4 separate regions of the Homo sapiens genome follow, and regions 2, 3 and 4 are each linked to region 1. Evidence: promoter capture Hi-C in 16 types of primary human blood cells and fetal thymus (Javierre and others, 2016). All regions are on one chromosome and are shown on one strand. Each heading gives the region's core, a stretch centred on a gene start or on the middle of the fragment in contact. The rest is flanking DNA. Distances are from core to core; before and after follow the strand shown. Region 1 holds the start of ZNF17 (zinc finger protein 17). Region 2 holds the start of ZNF256 (zinc finger protein 256). Region 3 holds the start of C19orf18 (chromosome 19 open reading frame 18). Region 4 overlaps ZNF418 (zinc finger protein 418).

Region 1 (3,159 bases), core at 227-2,726:
AGAGATCACAAGACTATGTCCATATCTTTATTTGTGGGGGTATGATTTTCAGCTAACATAGCTGCTAAGTGATTTAATTTACAATTATAGTGGTAGAAAAATAGCTCTAACTTCTGAGGTTTTGTAATTTATTGTAAAAAGCGGAATACAGGACATTTAAAGTGACCTGACAAGGTCAATACAGGACTGAGGACTAATTCATTAAATACGTCTTACGTGTCTTAGAGGACCACAGACAGCTAGCAACCCTACTCCTAATGTGTCCCATGCACTTAGTATTGTACCTGGCATCGAATGAGTGTTCATCAAATATGTTAGAGTAATAAATACGACAGCACAGTTTCCCTATTCAGCTTTACTTTTCTGGTAACTCTTTTAATATATAGTCTTTACCTCTCCCTTCAAGCTGTTAATGCACAATGTTTTCAAGTTTGAAAAAGAATCAGATTTTGGACACCAAACTTGAGTGTGTCCAAGGTTCCAGGACAACCTTAGCTTTTTTCCTCCTATCACAAATATGTTTCTCTATAACTATTTTTGCCACTTTCTTTGGATATCTACATAATCGTCATTAATAGTTTCAGTAATAGCCATTTCACAAGAGTTATTCAGAGACAATTTCAACTCCCTGTGCAGACACTGTTGATACAATTTCAGGCGAAATGATAAATCACTTTCCACTAATGAGATGAGATCATGCATTCCCAAACCTTTATCTCAGGAGTAAGATGCTTTCTTTGCACAAGGGCTTTGACTGGTGGAAGGCCACACTATTCTGGCAGATAATGGTAGATAAGTCGCTTTTCCTTTTCAGTTAGGTTTCAGTCTCTTAAAATAAGTGGAAAATATCTCAGATATAAAGTAATAAGTATCATGTGAATAAAGTGTTGCTGGGTAGGCTGAAAGACAATAACTGATTATTCAGAAAGGAAAGATATTACTCCTCAAACTCCCCATCATGCCATGTCTGGGTCTTTTCAATGTGCCCAGCAGAGCACATTGAAGATCATAAAACAGTCTCCAGAGCTTCGTTCTGTGTGTATTTGGCAAGCACAAAAGAGCTGACCGCTATGCGTGGAAGACCAGTTCTTTATGGTTGGCCATGTTCCTTCGGATGTTCGTCTTTTGGGAACTTGCTGTGCTTTACAGAATCTGAAAGGACAGGTCTCTGAAACATTTCTCTGACTTGTTCTAGACTGCCTTCCGGGAAAATCTGGATGCTTGCCGTTTAAAAGCCAATGAAGCCCCTCCACGTCCTTGGAGCCCCGCAACTGCATTTCTCAAAGCCTCAGGAGGATCCTCCTGGCTTTCATCCTGAACGCGAGTTAACTTAAGTTCAGAAGCGGGGCAGGCAGTGGCCTGGGAACTACATTACCCAAAAGACACAGCGGCGGACACAAGCAGCGAGTGTAGCCAATGAAGGCCTAGCAGAGCGGCGTCTACGGGGGTTCGCAATGCGTGTGGGCGGGACTTCCTGCAACGCCTCCTGGGGTTGTCAATATGGCTGCGTTGGGATCTGTTCACCTTCAGGCTGAGTCGAGACTGAGGTGAAAAAGCGGAAAAACGCGAGAAAAGGTTTCCCCGTTGTACAGAGGCTAGAGTGAGGCTCGGTTGAATCGGTTGCAGGCGTTGGTGCCTCTGTCAGCGTCCAGGTCACTGCCGCTCCCGCCCCGCTCTTCCCTGGCTGTGCTGGCGGAGGCTGCGCCGATGAACCTGACTGAGGTGGGTGCCGCGTCCCAGGGCGCCCCGCCCGATCCCTCCTCCGAGTGCCGAAGCCCCGAGGAGGGGCCCTGCAGGTCAGGCCCCTGTGTCCCAAAGAGAGGAGCGTTCTTGTGTGGGGTACCGGTGTCCGCGGTGCTGTGAGGCGGGGGAGCTCCTGTCAGGGACCTGCACGTGCGAGGCTTAGAGGTGCTGCAGAGCGGGCGGCACTGGGGAGCCCGAGCGTCTTTGTCTCCACGGAGCTGAGGGTGAGGCGGAGTCTCGCCTGGGAGGGCAGCGGAGCTGCTGAAAGCCGTAGAAGGCTGTGCAGGAAGGGTTATGCCCAGAGGTAGACGTTTAAAGTTGGGAAAAACAGGATGTTAAACCAGGACAAGGGGACCGCTGAGGAGACCCCTTGAGTTATGGTAGGGATGGGCCAGAGGGGTTGCAGTAGAGGGGAAGTGTGATGAGATTCTGGATGGATCTCAGAGATAGAGTCGACAGGATTTCCTGCTGCATCAAATGTAGCAGTGAGGGTAGTGAAGGGTCTATTCCATGGATTTTGTTTTGGCCTGAAAATCTGAAAGAATGGAGTTGGAGAAGTCAGCTTAGGGAGCAGGTTTCAGAGAGGATTATGAGTTGCATTTTGGAGGGCTGAGTTTTGGAGGGCAGATCATGGGTGGGTCCATAAGCCTGACGCTACCTTTAGAAAGGCGCAGACCTGTCATAGGAGGGATTCTGGCTCATATCTGCAAAAACGGAGTTCTGAATGGGTTAAGGAACTGGCCTAGGCTGGAGACTGAGGTGTGAGGTGGTTTAGATTTCTGCACCTGCAGACCCAGCAGCCCCCCAGGCCCACTCTGTGGAACAATAGGAAGGTCATCCAGACTAGTGGGGACATTGGGTCCAGACGGGGGTAGGGCTTTCTCACATCTAGTCAAGGGCCTCCAGCAAGCTTCCAGCAACTGAATTTGTAGCAGGCAGGCCTGGTTGCTGATGGGACCAGTAACTGACCTGCTTGCTTATCCCCTCCCTGCAACTTATTTATTTATGAATGTGTAAAACATTTTTTTTTTTTTTGAGACAGAGTCTCGCTCCATCGCCCAGGTTGGAGTGCAGTGGCGCGATCTCGGCTCACTGCAAGCTCCGCCTCCCGAGTTCAAGCAATTCTCCTGCCTCAGCCTCCCGAGTAGCTGGGACTACAAGTGCCCGCCACCACGCCAGGCTAATTTTTTGCATTTTTAGTAGAGACGGGGTTTCACCGTGTTAGCTAGTATGGTCTCTATCTCCTGACCTCATGATCTGCACGCCTCAGCCTCCCAAAGTGCTGGGATTACAGGCATGAGCCACCGCGCCCGGCCGAATGTATAAAACATTTATTTAACCACTAATGAACCAGTATCCTTCTAAATATGTACACATAGGTCGGCAGTTAGAAATGAATGTAACCAATAGTTAAAT
Region 2 (3,120 bases), core at 327-2,826, 540 kb after region 1:
TCATCATCCTCCCAGTCTTGGCCCACTAACAGCTTTACAACCAAAACCTGGAGCTTGCCCCGCCTAACTGTGACCCACAGCTCACTAACCTTGGTGCGCACAACAGCCACATCTTGAATATCTGCACCCTGAACCACTCCCTAGATTTCAAGACCGGCACGTTCATCTGCCCACTTAACGCCTCCATTTAGTAGGCTCTGAAAGATCTGACTCTTAGCATGGCATAAACAAACCTGATATCCCTAGTGAATATTACTCCTATTGCCAATTTGTTCATCTTAGTTGATGAAACTTCTTTCCCTACAGCTGCTAATACCAAAAACCCTGGAGTCTTCTCTGAACCCTCTGTTTCACTCCCTCACCACCTACATTATGTAATTTAGTTGTCCCTTTTGAAACCACACATCCGGAATCTAACCACATCTCCTAAATCACGATCCTGGGCCAGTAACCCTCACTTGGACTAGTCTACCCTGATTTTCCTTCCTCCTCCCTCAACCCCCCAGTTTGTGCCCCACTGTGCACACAGATGAAGCCTGTGAAGACCTTGGTAAATTACCTCTTTTTTCTGATTCAAACTTGCTATTACCTCCTGAAAACACACTCAACTTCTCAGGCAGCCACTGCAGTCCTGACGCCTATCCTCCTGTTCTTTGCTTCCCACCAGAAAGCAAGGAGACTTGTGGCTTCATAAATGCACCCAGCTCCGTACTGCACCTAAGCATTTGCACATCTTGTACCTTTCTGGAAAAACTTTCCACACCCGTTCACATGGCTGCCAGAAATTGGAACAACTCTATATACCGGCTAACATGGACATAGGACCCTGGGCTTGGGGTTCACCCAAGGTCTTCAGAACTAAGGGCTGGGGGAATGGCACTCCACAACCCAGAGAACCTGTGGGTGGGAGTTAGGGCTAGTGAGAGACTGGGAAACCCTCCCCTTCCTGGCGTAGATTTCATAACCCTTTACAGCCAAGGGAAACGTAGAAAGAGCCAGGCCTCAGAGAAGAGCATCTATGGCGGTATTAGATGGGCTCAAGCCACCCCGTAGCCCCATGCCTGGCCTTGGAGCCGGGTGCCCTCGCAATGGCTGTGTCACCTCTGTGCCCCAGGGCTCAGTGGCGCCTCTCATCAGGGGCTCCTTGCCAGTCGCGCCCTCCCTTCCCTAGCACACCAGGTGTTGGAAACGGGAGCCCCTCCGGCGAGCCCCCGTGTCCTGTCCTGGGCAGCAGGGCCGCGAGCAAGCGCCCTCGGGGGTGCTAGGACTAGCGTGGGGAGGGCGGGGAAGGCCCAGAGGACGCGGCACATACCTGGGCCGGGGCCGTCAGCTCGGCCGCCGCCATCTGACTCTGTGAGCGGAGCGGGGCCAGAGAGGATGTCCTTATTCCGGGCCGGGCCTGGGTACCCTGGGCGCCGCCGAGCCTCAGCCACGCCTCTGTGCAGCGGGGAAGACTCCTCTCGCGCCTTCTCAGTCAGTCACGGATGATGCTGACCCAGCGCTCCGGGGCTTTCTACCAAGTAATCAGTCCAGACAAATGCCAAAACGACCGCCACAAGGAGGACAACGGAAGTCCCGCCGCGACCGCGCGTGCGCTTACGGAAACACCACCTTTCGGAGGCCTCATTGGCTGAAGGTCGCCGTCGCCCAACGCAGGCCATTCTGGGTAATGTTCCCACAGGCGCACGGCGGGAGAGTGAGGGTCGCCTCCACCTCCTTCCGGAAGTAAAGGCCAAACCCCTGTAGGGGGCGCTGGGAAATGGACACTCCAGGTTGGGGCGGAGGCGAGGCTTCGTTCTTTCTTAAAGGAGACGTACCCAGGTTTCTACCGATTGCTGTCTGCCAGTGTTTGTTTGGAGACGTGTCATTTCATGTGTTCCCAGAGGCACATATCCAGATGCACATATTATTACATACAGTCAGTCAGTCACAAAATATATCCACTGGTTGAGAAAGCAAATAAATATGACTATGTTGCGGCCGGGCGCGGTGGCTCACGCCTGTAATTCCAGCACTTTGGGAGGTCGAGGCGGGCGGATCACGAGGTCAGGAGATCGAGACCATCCTGGCTAACTCAGCGAAACCCCGTCTCTAAAATACAAAAAATACCACAAAAAAAAAAAAAAAAAGAAAAATTAGCTGGGTGTGGTGGCGGGCGCCTGTAGTCCCCAGCTACTCCGGAGGCTGAGGCAGGAAAATAGCTTGAACCCGGGAGGCAGAGCTTGCAGTGAGCCGAGATCGCGCCACTGCACTCCAGCCTGGGGGAAAGAGCGAGCCACTGTCTCAAAAAAAAAAAAAAAAAAAAAAAAAAAAAAAGACTATGTTGCAATTCAAACGCATGCACTCAAGCACTGGAGTCAGTTTTCTCAGTCTCTGTATGTTTGATTAGGGACAAGAAAAAAAACACTCCACACAGGTTCATGACAAAGAGGATGAAGGTGGGATGCGGAGGCACCCTGCAGCAGCAGGACATAAGTAGATCCCTGTCTCTGGGTCCCTCTCGTGCCTGTGTAGTCAAACATTGTGTCCAATTCACTAAGCAACACTTGCATGAATCTAATCTCACTTTCTCCATGCCTTTATATTCACTTCTTTTTAATAATTTGACATCAAGCTCAGAAAGAGAACAACAAAAGGAATGGTATTTTGAAAAGGCATGATGGCTAGCTAGAGCATTAACAGGTGGAACAAAGGGTGCTCTGAATCCCAAATGTAGGGTGTATCTTAAATTCAAGATCTCTTCTCAACGCTGAAATGATTATCTTTGCCCCCATTAGTTACGCTCTTGTTGCCCAGGCTGGAGTGCAATGGTGCGATCTCGGCTCACCACAACCTCTGTCTCCCGGGTTCAAGCGATTCTCCTGCCTCAGCTTCCCAAGTAGCTGGAATTACAGGCGCCCGCCACCGTACCCGGCTAATCTTTTTTTTTTTTTTTTTTTTTTGTATTTGTATTTTTAGTAGAGACGGAGTTTCGCCATATTGGCCAGGCTGGTCTCGAACTCCTGACCTCAGGTGATCCACCCACCTCGGCCTCCCAAAGTGCTGGGATTACAGGCGTGAGCCACTGTGCCCGGCCCTTTGCCCCCATTATTATAGGGCTGTTCTGCATAAAAAATTGAT
Region 3 (3,376 bases), core at 622-3,121, 560 kb after region 1:
TGGCAGCAATGTGTGGGTTAATTTGCAGAAGCCTGGTGAGCCTGCTGTTCTTTTTGCACCTGGTGCTTCCTGTCATGAAGAATGACCTTTAGGAACAGGATACTTTTGGTTTCTGGTCTCCTTTTGCAGTCATACAAGTTGGGAAATCTCTGCCCAAATTAAGGACCTGGAGAGACTTAGAGTTGAAGGGGCTACGACCTCATTAGAAGGTCAGCAAGGGTTGGGCACAGTGGCTCATGCCTGTAATCCCAGCGAGGAAGGCAGATCACGAGGTCAGGAGTTCGAGACCAGCCTGACCAACATGGTGAAACCCCGTCTCTACTGAAAATACAAAAATTAGCTGGGCATGGTGGCACGCGCCTGTAGTCCCAGCTACTCAGGAGGCTGAGGCAGGAGAATTGCTTGAACCCGGCGGTGGAGGTTGTGGTGAGCCGAGATTGCGCCACTGCACTCCAGCTGGGTGACAGAGTGAGACTCCGTCTCAAAAAAAAAAAAAAAAAAAAAAAAAAAAAAAAAAAAAAAAGGATCAGAGAGCCAGGCAGAGAGGCCAGGGAACCAACAATAGTGTCCTTTCCTCGGACACAAATTACATGCAAATGTATCACACAGACAGCATTTCCCTTGCATGGAATGGAGATTATTTACAAGCATCATATATCTCCACAAAGGGTTGCTGAGCTTCAAAGATTGTCGGGGTTGGTTTTGCTGTTATAAGATAAACAAACATCCTCTAGTACTCAAATTAGAAGGGAACCATAGAAAATGCTTATAAAGAATTCTCGGCTGGGCATGGTGGCTCATGCCTGTAATCCCAGCACTTTGAGAGGCCGAGGCGGGCGGATCATGAGGTCAGGAGATCAAGACCATCCTGGCTAACACAGTGAAACCCTGTCTCTACTAAAAATACAAAAAATTAGCTTGGCGTGGTGGCGGGTGCCTGTAGTCCCAGCTACTTGGGAGGCTGAGGCAGGAGAATGGTGTGAACCCAGGAGGTGGAGCTTGCAGTGAGCCGAGATCGCGCCACTGCACTCCAGCCTGGGCGACAGAGCAAGACTCTGTCTCAAAAAAAAAAAAAAGAAAAAAAAGAATTCTGTACACTCACAAACCTTCTGTGTCTAGACTTGCATGCTCTACTGCCAAATGTGCACCAAATTCAAGTCAGACAGGCATACCTGTGTAATCTGGATGGGATCAAGGTTTTTGTGTGCGCTTATTAAAGTGAAATGAAAAAGAGAAGAAAGTGGCAATCCCTAAAGAGAAAGCAGTTAACAGAGAGTGAAGAGCATAAGATCTAATTTCCAAGCAAATGTTTATCTAATTATACTCTATTTTATGGACCTTTCTACCAGCAAGCACACAGTACACATTCACATGGCAGATAAGAGGACTCCAGGCTACGATTCTCACTCCACTGAATGAGGAATTCAATGACTCACCCGTGGATCTCGAGGCAGCCCCTTGAATCCCAGGCAACTGGGTTTTATGAAAGAACACTTTGGGCTCTTTGGTGATGTTTCTGGGTGGTTGTGACCGTTTACTGCCTTGAAAAGAAAACTTTTTGCGGTGAAATGTAATTACCTTCTTTTTATCTCCCCTGAAACAGCTTTTCAATTCTCCCTGAGTCACATAAAACCAGTGGTTGAAGCTACCTGGTAAGCCTGTTATGTTTCCAGTGGGATGGAGTCCATCTGCATACGGCAAGCATAAATGAAGTTGGCATTCCATTAAAAACAAAAACAAAATGAGGAAACCACTCTGAACCTTGTCCATCACTCTCAAATTATCAGTATTTTATCCCGTAGATGAAAGGAAATACTTAGCTACAGTCCAGCATCTGTCCTCTATTTATCTGAGGAATCAAGAAGTTCTACTCCCTTCAGAATGTTTGGGCAGTGACTTGGAGCCACCAGTGTGAGGTCAGTCCTTGCTGTGATAATGGAGTTCCTTCATGGAACCATGCTGACCAATGGGGAGACTACAGTGTAAGAGGGCAGTGCTTGGAGGTGCAGGCATGATGAGACCAGGTCCCTGCCTGCAGTGTGCAGATTAGTGAGGAGGCAGAAAGAAATCAATTACAGTCAGCCCTCCGCATGCATAGTTCCCCATCCGTGATTTCCAACAACCTCACTTGGAAAATGTTCAGGAAAAAAGGAATGGGCACGGTGGCTCACGCCTATGATCCCAACACTTTAGGAGGTCAAGGTGGGCAGATCGCTTGAGGCCAGGAGTTCAAGACCAGCCTGGCCAACACAGTGAAAGCCCATCTCTACTAAAAATACAAAAATTTGCTGGGCGTGGTGGTGCACACCTGTAGTTCAAGCTACTTGGGAGGCTGAGGCATGAGAATCACTTGAACCCAGGAGGTGGAGGTTGCAGTGAGCTGAGATCATGCCACTGCACTCCAGCCTGGGCGACAGAGCAAGACTCTGTCTCAAAAAAATAAAACAACAAACACAAAAACAAAAACTAGCCAGGCATGGTGGCGTGTACCTGTAGTCCCAGATACTCGGGAGGCTGAGGCAGGAAGATCACTTGAGCCCAGAAGGCAGAGGTAGCAGTGAGCCAAAATCGTACCACTGCACAAAGAAAGAAAGAAAAGAAAGTGGAAGGAAAGCAGTCACCCTTAGAAGGGAGGCAATGTGCACAGGGGAGACCCACAGCAGGAAGGTAAAGGGGGACTCCTGATGACTGAAAGTGGGCCCTAGGCTTCAGAGATGGGAGGAATAGAAGACGGGCTCAAAAAAGGCAATGAACTATGTCATGTATGAGGGAGACAGAGGGGACCTGGGAGTGCTGGATGTTAGGGACCACTGAAATCAATACTGTCCAGGCTGTGCATGATAGGTGAGAGGAAGGGAATACTTCCAGGAAGAAGCAGAAGTCTGGGACTTTCTTTTGACTCGTGATGTGACCTGACCAACAGGAGGCCCTTTTTTTTTTTTTTTTTTTTTTTTGAGATGGAGTCTTGCCCTGTCACCCACACTGGAGTGCAGTGGCACAATCTTGGCTCACTGCAACCTCCACCTCCTGGGTTCAAACGATTCTCCTGCCTCAGCCTCTGGAACCGCTGGGATTACAGGCATCTGCCACCACACCCAGCTAATTTTTGTATTTTTAGTAGAGATGGGCTTTCACCATGTTGGCGGCCAGGCCAGTCTCGAACTCCTGATCTCATGATTCACCCACCTTGGCCTCCCAAAGTGCTGGGGTGACAGGAGTGAGCCACTGTGCCCTGCCAGGAGGCCCTTTAAGACATTAAAAAAACTCTTATCTGTTTAAACAGAGATGGGATCTTGCTACGTTGCAAGGCTGGCCTTGAACTCCTCAGCTCAAGCAATCCTCCTGTCCCTCCCAAAATGCTGGCATGAGCCTCGGT
Region 4 (3,047 bases), core at 370-2,869, 510 kb after region 1:
AGCCAGAGCTAGAAAATGAGACATAGAGCTAGGCGTGTGGCTCACGCCTGTAATCCCAGCACTTTGGGAGGCCAAGGCAGGCGGATCACCTGAGGTTGGGAGTTCGAGACCACCGTGATCAAAACGCAGAAACCCCGTCTCTACTAAAAATACAAAATTAGCCGGGTGTAGTGGCACATGCCTGTAATCCCTGCTACTTGGGAGGCTGAGGCAGGAGAATCGCTTGAACCGGGAGGTGGAGGTTGCAGTGAGCCGAGATCACGCCACTGCACTCCAGCCTGGGCAACAGGAGCGAAACTCCATCTCAAAAAAGAAAGAAAGAAAGAAAATGAGACATAGGGTTTATTGAGGACTTAGATACAGGGCAGTCCAGGAGCGGCAGGCTGGACAAAAAAACCACTATCATTTGAAAGAAGCATGCAGTTTATATAGTATTTTCACTTATCACCCTCCGCCTAGCTCAAAACAAAGGGCCTCATTCCAAGGAACAGGCCAGGGGTTCAGAAACCTCCAGGTTGGCCACTCCTGGATTTCTTCGTTTGGAACGCTGAACCAACACTCTTCTTAGACCACAGGGTCATTCTTAGGGTGTGCTTGAGTTACTGCTGTCAGATATATCTGTTATACAGTGTCGAACTCCTGGCCTCCAGGATGTTCTTGCCTTAGTCTCCCAAAACACTGGAATTAAAGGCATGAGTCCCTGTACATGACGAGATGGGCTTTTATTAACCTCTTTGTTAGTTTCATCAATCGAGAAGAGAGGGGAGGGTATGCAAAATAAAAATGTTAGAAAATGGGCCACACTTTACAAATTGAGATTATGTCTCCAGTTAAATGAGTTCCCCTATTGCTGTGTAATTCACAAGAAATTCTCCAAGAGGGAGTTACCAATTCAACACATATTTACCCATGACTTCCACGGTGGCTCTTCTGTAAGGAAATGCTTGAACCCAAAGAGAGAACATGCAGATCATAATCAGTTCATATTTATAATCTTGGGCTGGAGGCAAATGCATACAGTTTACCAAATATGAAAAGGTGAGGTGGGCAAAGGGAAATGCCCTTGAGATCCCTGAAAAGAAAGAAAATTCAGTTATACATTTGATACTTAAATATATGGGACACCACTTTGTTAAATTGCAAGAAAAAAACCAAAAGCATGCCAGGCACAGTGGCTCATCCTGTAATCTTAGCATTTTGAGAGGCCAAGGTGGGAAGATCCCTTGAGCTCAGGAGTTTTGAGAGCAGCCTGGGCAACATAGTGAGACCTAATCTCTACAGAAAAATTTTAAAAATTAGCTGTGCGTGGTGGCACATGCCTGTCCCTAGCAACTTGGGAGGCTGAGGTGGGAGGATGACTTGAGTCCAGCAGGTCAAGGCTGCAGTGAATTGTGATTGTGTCACTGTACTCCAGCCTGGGCAACAGAGTGACACTGTCTCAAAAAAAAAAAAAAAAAAAGGGCCAGGCACTATGGCTCATGCCTGAAATCCCAGCACTTTGGGAGGCCGAGGCGGGCAGATCATCACAAGGTCAGGACTTCAAGACCAGCCTGAACAACATGGTAAAACCCCATCTCCACTAAAAATACAAAAATTAACCGGGCATGGTGGTGCATGCCTGTAATCCCACCTACCCGGGAGGCTGAGGCAGGAGAATCGCTTGAACCCTGGAGGTGGAGGCTGCAGTGAGCTGAGATCGTGCCACTCCAGCCTGGGCAGACAGACGGACATTCTGTCTCAAAAACAAAAAAAATTAAGAAAGAATCAAAAGCAACTTTCTAATTCATTGCAGACGGGAGTATTTTTCTATTTAGTGACACACTTACCTAACCCATTTATGCCAAGGGATGCAAAATATATATATATATACATATACACACACATACATATATACACACATATATATACATATATACATACATATACATACATGTATATACATATATACACACACATATATACATATATACATATATATACATACACACACACACACACACACACACACATATATACACATATATATATATTTTTTGAGACCGAGTCTTGCTCTGTCACCCAGGCTGGAGTACAGTGGTGCGATCTTGGCTCACGGCAAGCTCCACCTCCCGGGTTCACTCCATTCTCCTGCCTCAGCCTCCCGAGTAGCTGGGACTACAGGCGCCTGCCACCACGCCCAGCTAATTTTTTGTATTTTTTTAGTAGAGACGGGGTTTCACCATGTTAGCCAGGATGGTCTCGATCTCCTGACCTCGTGATCCGCCTGCCTCAGCCTCCCAAAGTGCTGGGATTACAGGCGTGAGCCACCGTGCCTGGCCACTTTCATGGGTTTCTATGAAAGTCTAAACTTACCACATGGTACAGTTTAAATATGTATAGTTTACAGAATGTCATTTATTCCTTATTATGGCTTTAAAGAATTGATTCAAAAGAAAAATGTGGGCTGGACATGATGGCTGAGGCCTGTAATCCCAGCACTTTGGGAGGCTGAGGGAAAAGGATTGCTTGAGGAGTTCGAGGCTGCAGTGAACTATGATCTCGCCACTGTACTCCAGCCTGGGTCACAGAGCAACACCTTGTCTTAGAAAAAAAAAAAAAGAAAAACATGGATTTTCTATTATTTTTGACAAACATGCTTGACAACTATACAAAATCTCCTCATGTCCTAAGTGCAGCAATGAGTCTCTGCGGCAGCAAATACTGATAAGCCAGGAAGGCCATTTTCACCTGATTAAATTGGAACACTGGTTGGTCACAAAGACCACATCACTGGACTAAGAGATCTCCCTTCTCCCTATCCTCTTCCTCCTGCCAATGCAGGAATTGCCTTGAGGTGAACAGCCGAGAAAGGGTACAGGAATCCACGAATCCTTTATATTATTTCCTTTGACAATGGCCTCAGCTACACAAGATTCATAATTATGGAGGTTCTGAGAATTTCTGTACCTGACAGTCCACCACATACATAGTAACTGAATCAATGTGGATGACGTGCATTCCAACTCTGTTCTTGCAGTGTCCTCCACTGCCTATAAATGCAGAAATTC

The links. Contacts are between HindIII fragments. The CHiCAGO score rates a contact against its expected background, and 5 or more counts as called.
Region 2: a contact is called between the fragment with the promoter of ZNF256 here and the fragment with the promoter of ZNF17 in region 1, in 14 of 17 cell types (non-activated CD4 T cells, naive B cells, naive CD8 T cells and 11 more). The highest score is 10.1, in non-activated CD4 T cells.
Region 3: a contact is called between the fragment with the promoter of C19orf18 here and the fragment with the promoter of ZNF17 in region 1, in 1 of 17 cell types (naive CD4 T cells). The highest score is 5.2, in naive CD4 T cells.
Region 4: a contact is called between a fragment that was not itself captured here and the fragment with the promoter of ZNF17 in region 1, in 3 of 17 cell types (total B cells, fetal thymus and non-activated CD4 T cells). The highest score is 6.1, in total B cells.

Annotation. Positions count from the first base shown.
Region 1 is chr19:57,409,685-57,412,843 of GRCh38, forward strand. ZNF17 (zinc finger protein 17) reads left to right here and starts at 1,477. Exons shown (of 4, transcript NM_001330617.2): 1 at 1,477-1,722. RefSeq lists enhancers at 1,481-1,590, 1,671-1,730 and a silencer at 1,974-2,176. The HindIII fragment of the contact is 5,033 bases long and covers 1-2,651 here.
Region 2 is chr19:57,946,130-57,949,249 of GRCh38, forward strand. It overlaps ZNF256 (zinc finger protein 256), which reads right to left and starts at 1,577. Exons shown (of 3, transcript NM_005773.3): 1 at 1,313-1,577. The coding sequence starts at 1,345. RefSeq lists enhancers at 986-1,065, 1,556-1,655, 1,726-1,815. The HindIII fragment of the contact is 12,388 bases long and covers 1-3,120 here.
Region 3 is chr19:57,972,663-57,976,038 of GRCh38, forward strand. It overlaps C19orf18 (chromosome 19 open reading frame 18), which reads right to left and starts at 1,872. Exons shown (of 6, transcript NM_152474.5): 1 at 1,650-1,872; 2 at 1,437-1,541. The coding sequence starts at 1,770. The HindIII fragment of the contact is 7,599 bases long and covers 1-3,376 here.
Region 4 is chr19:57,921,558-57,924,604 of GRCh38, forward strand. ZNF418 (zinc finger protein 418) reads right to left here. Exons shown (of 6, transcript NM_133460.3): 5 at 1,635-1,732; 6 at 325-1,072. Among named protein-coding and RNA genes, the nearest start is that of ZNF417, 6.5 kb to the left of the region's middle. The HindIII fragment of the contact is 3,803 bases long and covers 1-3,047 here.